Linked DNA regions of Homo sapiens: regions 1 and 2 are each linked to region 3. The links are contacts of gene promoters, found by promoter capture Hi-C in blood cells and fetal thymus (Javierre and others, 2016). All regions are on one chromosome and are shown on one strand. The core of a region is centred on a gene start or on the middle of the fragment in contact, and the rest is flanking DNA. Distances in the headings are between cores, read along the strand shown.

The links. The method cuts DNA at HindIII sites, captures the fragments that hold promoters and counts their contacts. A CHiCAGO score of 5 or more calls a contact.
Region 1: a contact is called between a fragment that was not itself captured here and the fragment with the promoter of AKT3 in region 3, in 6 of 17 cell types (fetal thymus, non-activated CD4 T cells, naive B cells and 3 more). The highest score is 6.6, in fetal thymus.
Region 2: a fragment that was not itself captured here is called in contact with the fragment with the promoter of AKT3 in region 3 in 1 of 17 cell types (total B cells); the score reaches 5.8 in total B cells.

Annotation. Positions count from the first base shown.
Region 1 is chr1:244,296,841-244,299,540 of GRCh38, forward strand. The region is part of intron 1 of LOC105373262 (a long non-coding RNA gene); the gene reads right to left. Among named protein-coding and RNA genes, the nearest start is that of SPMIP3, 54 kb to the right of the region's middle. The HindIII fragment of the contact is 1,560 bases long and covers 512-2,071 here.
Region 2 is chr1:244,204,961-244,207,686 of GRCh38, forward strand. No RefSeq gene overlaps it. Among named protein-coding and RNA genes, the nearest start is that of SPMIP3, 150 kb to the right of the region's middle. The HindIII fragment of the contact is 1,599 bases long and covers 632-2,230 here.
Region 3 is chr1:243,848,891-243,851,590 of GRCh38, forward strand. It overlaps AKT3 (AKT serine/threonine kinase 3), which reads right to left and starts at 1,353. Exons shown (of 14, transcript NM_005465.7): 1 at 1,150-1,353. RefSeq lists an enhancer at 262-762. The HindIII fragment of the contact is 10,171 bases long and covers 1-2,700 here.

The DNA.
Region 1 (2,700 bases), core at 42-2,541, 450 kb after region 3:
GGAGGCCGTGCACGGTGGCTCATGCTTGTAATCTCAGCACTTTGGGAGGCCAAGGTGGGTGGATCACTTGAGGTCAGGAGTTCGAGACCAGCCTGGCTAACGTGATGAAACCCTGCCTCTACCAAAATAATAATAATAATAATGATAATAATAATACAAAAGTTAGCCGGGTGCAGTGGCATGTTTCTGTGATCCCAGCTCTTCAGGATGCTAAGGCATGAGAATCGCTTGAACCCAGGAGGTGGAGGTTGCAGTGAGCTGAGATTGCACCACTGTACTCCATCCTGGGTGACAGAGTGAGACTGCCTCAAAAAAAATTAATTAATTAATTAATTTTAAAAAAGAGAGAGAGAGAAAGAAGAAAAGAAATGGATGGAAAATTAAGTGTTCACTTGAAAAAATAAAAATAAAAAAAGTGATAGAAGATACGGCTGCAAAAGCAGCAATGAACTGGCTGAAAGACTGAAGCTCTGTCCTTAGATTGAAAAGTGAGGCGATTCCAATATTCAAAAGCTTGGTACTTTTGTGCCTGACTGAGTTGTAGCCCTCGTCCAAGAGATTGTCCAGGAATGGAGAAAAATAGCTTTATTTGAAGGCAGTGGTAGAAAGAGAATAATAACAAAGTTGTTTTTTAATCCTAAAAGAGCAAGTGTCCAGGAGAGGCCAATTTATAAGGAGGTTCTGGAGTAATGTCAGTAATAAAACCTCCCGGGAAGATGAAATACATGCCACTCTGGCTCTCCAGCTAGTAGGTGCTGATGGGCCCCCAGCAGCCACCAAAATTCTATTTCATTGACTCTTATCCCAACATCCTTGATAGAGGAGATCTAACTTTGCAAAATCCTCTCCAAGTGTTTCGGGGATCTTGGGTTTTGTCGTTTAAGCTCATAAAGAGTTCTCTCACGTTCCTTGGCCCTGGGCCCCTCTGTTGTTTTTTGCTTGTGAAGCCATTTGAGGGCTGCTGTGTGCCACCGTCACAGCTGTGTGGCAAGCCTAGAGTCATGCTGTTATAACCACCCGATGGGTGCTTCCTGCCCACTACACAAACAAAATCCATTCACAGAGACCACAGCATTGCAGATCACAAGGTCAGGAGATCGAGACCATCTTGGCCAACATGGTGAAACCAAGTCTCTACTAAAATACAAAAATTAGCCAGGTGTGGTGGTGCGCACCTGTAGTTCCAGCTGCTCGGGAGGCTGAGATAGAGTAATTGTTTGGAAGTGGAGGTTGCAGTGAGCTGAGATCGCCCCACTGCACTCCAGCCTGGTGACACAGCAACACTCCGTCTCAAAAAAATAAAAAGAGTTTAATTGACTCGAGGTCAGTCATGCCACATGGGAGATGGAGTTATCACTCAAATCGACCTCACTGAAGGCTCAGAGGTTAGGAGTTTTTGAAGGGTAGTTTGGGAGAAGGGATGGAGGTGTCTGGGCAATGGGTGCTTGCTGCTGATTGGCTGGGGGTGCAATCATAGGGGTGTGGGAAATGGTCCTCCTGTGCCTGAGTCCTTTGTGGGTGGGGCCACAGGAGGGGTCAGTGGGTCTAGGTGGAGGCATGAGTGTCAGACATCAAAAAAAAAGACTGAAAAGATATCCCAAAGGCCAATCTTAGGCTCTATAACGGTGATATTATCTGCAGGAGTAATCTGGGAGGTTGCAAATCTTATGACCTGCAGAATAATGGTTGGCAATCATTTATGTCTACACCTTAGCAGAATTCAGGCTCCTCTACCCTGCTAGCCTGGTGGTCTCTCATTACTTTTACAAAAGCAGCTGACTTTGGGGAAAGGGCTATTATCATTTAACTCTCAAAGTTAGCTTGGCCTACACCCAGAAATATTAACAATTAATGGCAACTTGAAGGCTAAAGGCAAGATGAGGGTTGGCTAGATCAGATCTCCCTCACTGCCATAGTTCTCTCACTGACCTAATTTTTGCAAAGCGGTTTCACTGTGTTTCTTGTAAAGGTAGAGGAGAAAGCCCCTCTCCTCCCTCCCTCCCTCTGTGTCACATTTTATTACTTGTGTTAGTGAGCACTAAAAAATGTAAGTCCTGGGTCTTGTGTGAAAAGCTTGCAGTTTTAGGCTGGGCGTGGTGGCTCACACCTGTAATCCCAGAACTTTGGGAGGCCGAGGCGGGTGGATCACCTGAGGTCAGGAGTTCGAGACCAGCCTGACCAACATGGTGAAACCCTGTCTCTGCTAAAAATACAAAATTAGCCGGGCATGGTGGCGGGCGCCTATAATCCCAGCTACTCGGGAGGCTGAGGCAGGAGAATTGTTTGAAGCCGGGAGGCGGAGGTTGCATTGAGGTGAGCTCGCACCACTGCACTCCAGCCTGGGCAACAAGAGCGAGACTCCAAAAAAGGAGACAGAGAGAGAGAGAGAGAGAGAAACGAAAAGCTTGCAGTTTCGACATGCCCTGCTTCTCTGCAGAGACACAAGTCCATGACACTGGTGTCGTGGTTCCTTTTCACTCTCATTGTTTTGGTTGTTTCAGTTCTTTCCCCCCATTTCTCAAACAATCTCCTCCCTCTACTGCAACCAAAAAGCCCCATGCCTCTTCTCCCACCACCCTGCAGACTCAGACAAGACTGCATCTCAGCTTGCTCTCAGGCTGAGAGCACTGATAGCTTGGCTTTATCTAGCAGACAACAGGAAGCCTCTGAAGGGCTCTGGGCAGAGAAATCGTTAGGAAG
Region 2 (2,726 bases), core at 181-2,680, 360 kb after region 3:
GAGGCCAGGGAATGATTGCCAAGAAATGTGCCTGAACCTCTCAGATGTTAAGTGATTCTGCTGATATTAAAACAGAAACTGCACATGAGTGCTGGGGCTTGGATATTTGGCTACAACAAACATTTGGGAAAAGCATCAGCCACAGCAGCCATGGAAGGAAAGTATTGCGTGTCTGTGCGGAATGATGGTGAGGTGAGGTAACTCAGCAAATGCTGTAAGATGGGTTTGGATTGGGAAGGCCAAAGACTTCTACAGCCAGGTCAGATCCTGAAGGGTTAATTCAGGGTTTCACATTGTCCTTAAATTTGGTGCTGCTGCTACTGCTGCTCTTTTGGAGGCCACAGAGAAGGTAGACAAGGGTCTGGTGTGGCCTCCAGTAGTCTCCAGCACACTGGCTTGGAATGCAGGCTTTGGGTTCCAAGTATGGACGTCTCCATAACTAACCATCTGGTCAGTGTTCATCACGCTAGTGTGGGATGCAGACAGAGAACATACTTAGAGGCAGAATCGATAATCTGGCAAAGAGAAAGAAGTTCACAGCTTTACAAATGAGCTCCTTAGCATTAATTAATTTATTCATTAATTCAACAATAATTTAGTAAGGGTGTATTATGTGACAAGCAATGAGAAAAGCTTGGTTGGAAGATGGAGGTTATAAAGATATATAAAGCTATACTCCTTCCCATCTGTTTATGAAATCTATACTGGGTAAGCCGTGCAGACATCTAATTAGAATACAACGTTAATAAATACTATTTTTGTAGGTGTGTACAGAGCATTACAGAACTGTCGAGGAATATGCAGTTGTCTGAGGAATTCCATTACGGCTTCACAGAGGAAACAGCATTAAGGCTAAGTCTTTTTTGTTTGCTTTTTGTTTTAATTTAGTGAGAGCAAGTTTATTAAGAAAGTACAAGAATAGAGAATGGCTACTCCATAGGCAGAGCAGCCAAGGCTAAGTCTTGAAGGGTGACGGGGAATTTTTAAAAGAATAGGAAAAGAAGAATGTGACAGTCTTTAGAATCAGACAGACCTACATCCTAGCGCTAGGTCTACCTAATTGTATAATCTTGTGTTCACTATTTAGCCTTGGCGGGGGGAGGGGCTCTGTTTCTCCATCTGGAAAATGGAAATAATAATGCCTACCTTGCAGAATTGTTACAAGAATTAGATATAACCTATATTCAATGTTTGGCAAAGGAAAGGGCACAAAATCAGTGATGATTTTATTAAATTTACCAGCTGGGGCTATGAGGAAGGGCATGCAAGATAGAAGACACACTGTGTGTAAAACAGAGACTTGTGGAAAGAAATGGTGCATGTAGGCAACAGAAAGTAGACTGTAGACATTGAGAGGAGTAAATAATAGGAGATGAGGCTGGACAGATGGACTGGGGTCAGTTACAATGAGTCAGCACCATCTTTGGTGAAGACAGGCCAGTATCTTTCAGCTTTACCCAAAATTGCCATGCCCAAGGGCCCTTTGCCAGTCTGCTTTCACAGGTGGTTTCAGCTCACTCTTCTTCCTTCTTCCTCCTCTCCACCCACTCCACCCCTCTCCATCCATCAAACTCCGAGAGTCACCACACCATCTTCAGGAAGCTCCTATCTTCAGCTCAGCCATATGACACCCCTCCTGATTGTTTAGCAGCCACGTCTATTTAGAGATCCATTGAAAGTCATTTCTATCATTTCTCCTGCAGGTGCATTTTGTGCTAAGAATACCCAACAACAAAAATCCAAGCACACAAAGAAACGTCAGAGAGATCTTGACACACCAAGGATCCTCTAGTCTTTAACTTCAGTCTCTTAGGAATTAATTGAAATGATGACAGCACCAACCTCACAGGATTAAATGAGATAGTTATGTGAAGCACAGAATAAGCATTCAAACATATTAGACGCTGTTTGTACCATTATGATAATTAGCTTCATAAAATAATTTTACTCAATACTTCTGAGTGCTTACTAGGTGCAAGGTATCAAAGAATTCCTTCATAGACACATAATTTACCTAGACTTTTCAGGCAGATAAACTCTGCATAGAAGAAAGCACAAACATATGGGAGCAATGCAATTTAATCAGCACCTAATTAGCCAAACTATTTAAAATAGACCTCACTATTTTGATGATGAAAACATTCTCACTTCTAAATGCCGGAAGCTGTGTCTTCCCGTAATTCTCTCCCTTGGAAAACTGTGAGCAGAGGGACTCTTGGCTCATTGCTGAAGCTTCCTCTCCATTACATTTAGACCTCATCGGTTCTAGTCATTTCCTTTCTTTGTCATTAGATGAGGCGAGGGCCACTTCTGCCATCTCTCCTCAATCCACCATGTTTCCCTGGTGGTGACTGCTCTGTGTGTGGATGGGTGTGCCTGAGGTCATAATTATAAAAGCTAATATTCATCATGAAGACTTACTCCATGGCAGAGACTGTTTAAGCATTTCATGTTCAATCTTCTTAACAACCCTATGAAATTCATACCACCAGTATCTCCATTTACTGGAAGAAACAAAAGTTCTCAGCGGTTAAGTAACCTGCCGAATGTTCCCAGCTGGTAGGGAATACAGCCAAGACCCACATGCAGGCAGTCTGCTTCTAGCTTCCCTAAGAGTTAGCAAATCCAAGAGTGGAAACCTTGGAGATATAATAGAGTCAGTTGCTGTGAATTAAGCCAATTCTTACATTTTGTCTCCCAGTTAACCCAAAGCTTCTCTTACAGAG
Region 3 (2,700 bases), core at 103-2,602:
GGTTTTATTTTCATAACAACATTATTTTGATGGAAGAAATGTGAGCATCCCAGCTTTGACTTGTGGGTAAGCATTTCCTCTGCTTTCAGAACATAAACAGTAAATACCGGTATTGGAAAAACCTGGCCCCAACGAGATTCTTTATCTCTAGGCTAACTGTAGATTCCCGGGAAATCCCAAACAAGGGATGGTGACCCCGCCTCGGCGTCAGGGTCAACACAGCAACCAGCTAGGCTTCAACTTTGGGCTCTGAAGGGCCCCACCGGCATCATGGCTGATGCGGACCGATGCGCCGGAGGAGGTGGACAAGGAAGAGGCTGGTCTGTTTACTTGCAGCCAGAGCTGCCGCCGCCGCCAGCAGCGACAGCATCACTGGATCAGCCAAACCCAGCATCTTCCGCACATTTCTATTCTTAGCACACAACTCCCAAGCGGATCAAAACCCCACTACTATTAAAAACACAGACAAGCACGTTACCCACCTCCCACACACACACCCCCCCCCCCACCCCACCAGTGCCGTCTTTTCCTGCGCGCCAGTGGCGGGGAAGGGTGGGGGAAGGAAGGAGACCCCGGGGACGCCTGTGCATCCTCGCCTTCACCCCACCCCACGCGCAGACAGCCTCAGCGCCAGGGCGCGCGGCAGACGGCTCCCTCCCCCCAACCCAAACACACTGACACCGGCGCTCCACGCGTTATATAACCTCGCCGCCGCCCCCGGTCCAGGCGGGCGCCCCCTCCCCACGCCGCGCGGCCCGGGCGGGGAGGGGCGAGGGGAAGGAGCGAGAGTTGCGCAGACAGCAGGCGCCGGGCCGGGGCAGCCCAGACACAGACGGTACCGCTAGGCCGGGAACACCCCTCCCCCGGCCCGCTGCGCACCGCCGCCCCCCAGCTTTCCCCGGAAAGCGGGGGGTGTCGGTGTCAACCGCGCTGGGCATCCCCCGGCCTCCACACCCACACCCGAAGCCTCCGGTGACCCAGCCCCCGCCCACGCCCCCGGCGCGGTGACAACCCAGAAGCCCCCGCCTCACCCCACCCCGCCGCCATCCCCCGCCTGAGGGAGGCAGGGAGGGCGGACCGGGGCCCGGGGCCCGGAGGGAGTGGAGGCCAGGCGGGGAGGGGGCTAGAGTTGGGGGCGGTGGCTGTTACCTGCAACGGCGGCGGCGGCGGTGGCGGCCCCGCAGCTGCTCGGGCGGCGGCGGAGGATGGAGCCGGGGGGGGGCGGGGGGAGGAGAGGGGGCGACTCGGGGGTCCCCCCTCCCTCCTCCTCCCCTCCTGTCCTCCCCCCACCCCACAGAGCCTCTGGCCTCCTGGAGCCCGGTGCGGCCGGCGGGAGGGCAAGCGAAGGGCTGCAGGGGAGGGAGGGAGGGAGCCGGCCGGGCCGGGCCGCGGAGCTGGAGCGGGAGGCGGCGGCGGCGGCGGCGGCGGCGGGAGGGGGAGGGAGGAGAGAGGGCGGCGGCGGGGAGAGGAGGAGGCGGAGACTCTACATGGGAATCGGATATCGGCTACAAATTCATCACCAGAAAACACCGCTCGGGCGGGGGCCGGGTCACGCCGGCGGGGCGGCGGCTCTGGGCCCCGGGGCGCGCCCGGCGCGGGGAGGGGTTCTGCGGCCTCCTCCCGGGCTGCGCCTCGCTGAGGGGACCCCCCGCCGCCTCCCCGCCCCCTCCTTCCTCCCGCTCGGGGCCGCCGCCGATCGGTTCTCGCCGTCGCCGCGGGGCTTGTTGTTGACTTTGAGGAAAACTCCTGACGTCAGGGGCTGGCTCTCGGCGACTGGCGGGAGCGGCTTCCCCGCGTCCCCGGCCCTGCCCGCCGCCTCTGCTCCCCTCCCTGCCCGGCCCTCGTCCTCAGGCTTCCCCGCGCCCCCAAACCAGCGGTGCCCCGCGCCCCCTCTCCTCTCGCGAGAACATCCCCCTAGCCAGCCAGAGCCGGGAGCGGGGGCAGTCGCTCCCGGGCGGGAAGTTCTGGGTTTCCCCCTCGCCCGCGTGGCCCTTGGCGGGCACCCGAGGCCCGGGAGCGGAGGCTCCTCGCCCAGCCGCTTCCTCGGCGCATCCGCCCACCCGCCCTGGCCGCGGACGCGCGCGCCGCCAGGCCCCGGGCGTCTCCTCCAGTCCGCCGCGGCCCCTTGGGGAGATGGGCCCGGCGCGAGGGCTCGCACCTGGAAGCCCACGAAGTGGGCGGTGCCCAATGAGGTAGGGACCGGAGAGCGCGGAGCAGTCCAGAAGCCGACCCCACCCCCTGCACCTCGGGGAAGAGGGAACCCGGGTCAGCCCGTAGCAAGAATCATTCCTGACTATCCCAGGAGACCACGGCAGACCAAAAACACCTCTCTGAACAGCCTTCCGCACCGCTCGCTGCAAGCATTCGTCCACACACGGTACACAGATTGCGGGCGGATCGTAATTCACTCTTGAAATCACACCCTTTTTAGGGATATTCGTTTTCAATGACTTTGGGAAAGCCACGAGGTACTACATTTACTACGAAGAGACCGTTTCTTTATTTTGAAGTCAGTGACTCCTGAGACTGCATTGGGGACAACTTTTTTGCACAATGACCATATTTTACCATGCAGCGCACTTCAGAAAATTATAAAAGTTTACAAGTTTTATCGCTTCTGGAAACACCTGGGCAGCATCCCTATTATCCCGCCACGTGGCTCTAGCCTTGTTGATGTACCTGTTACTTTCTCCCACTGCA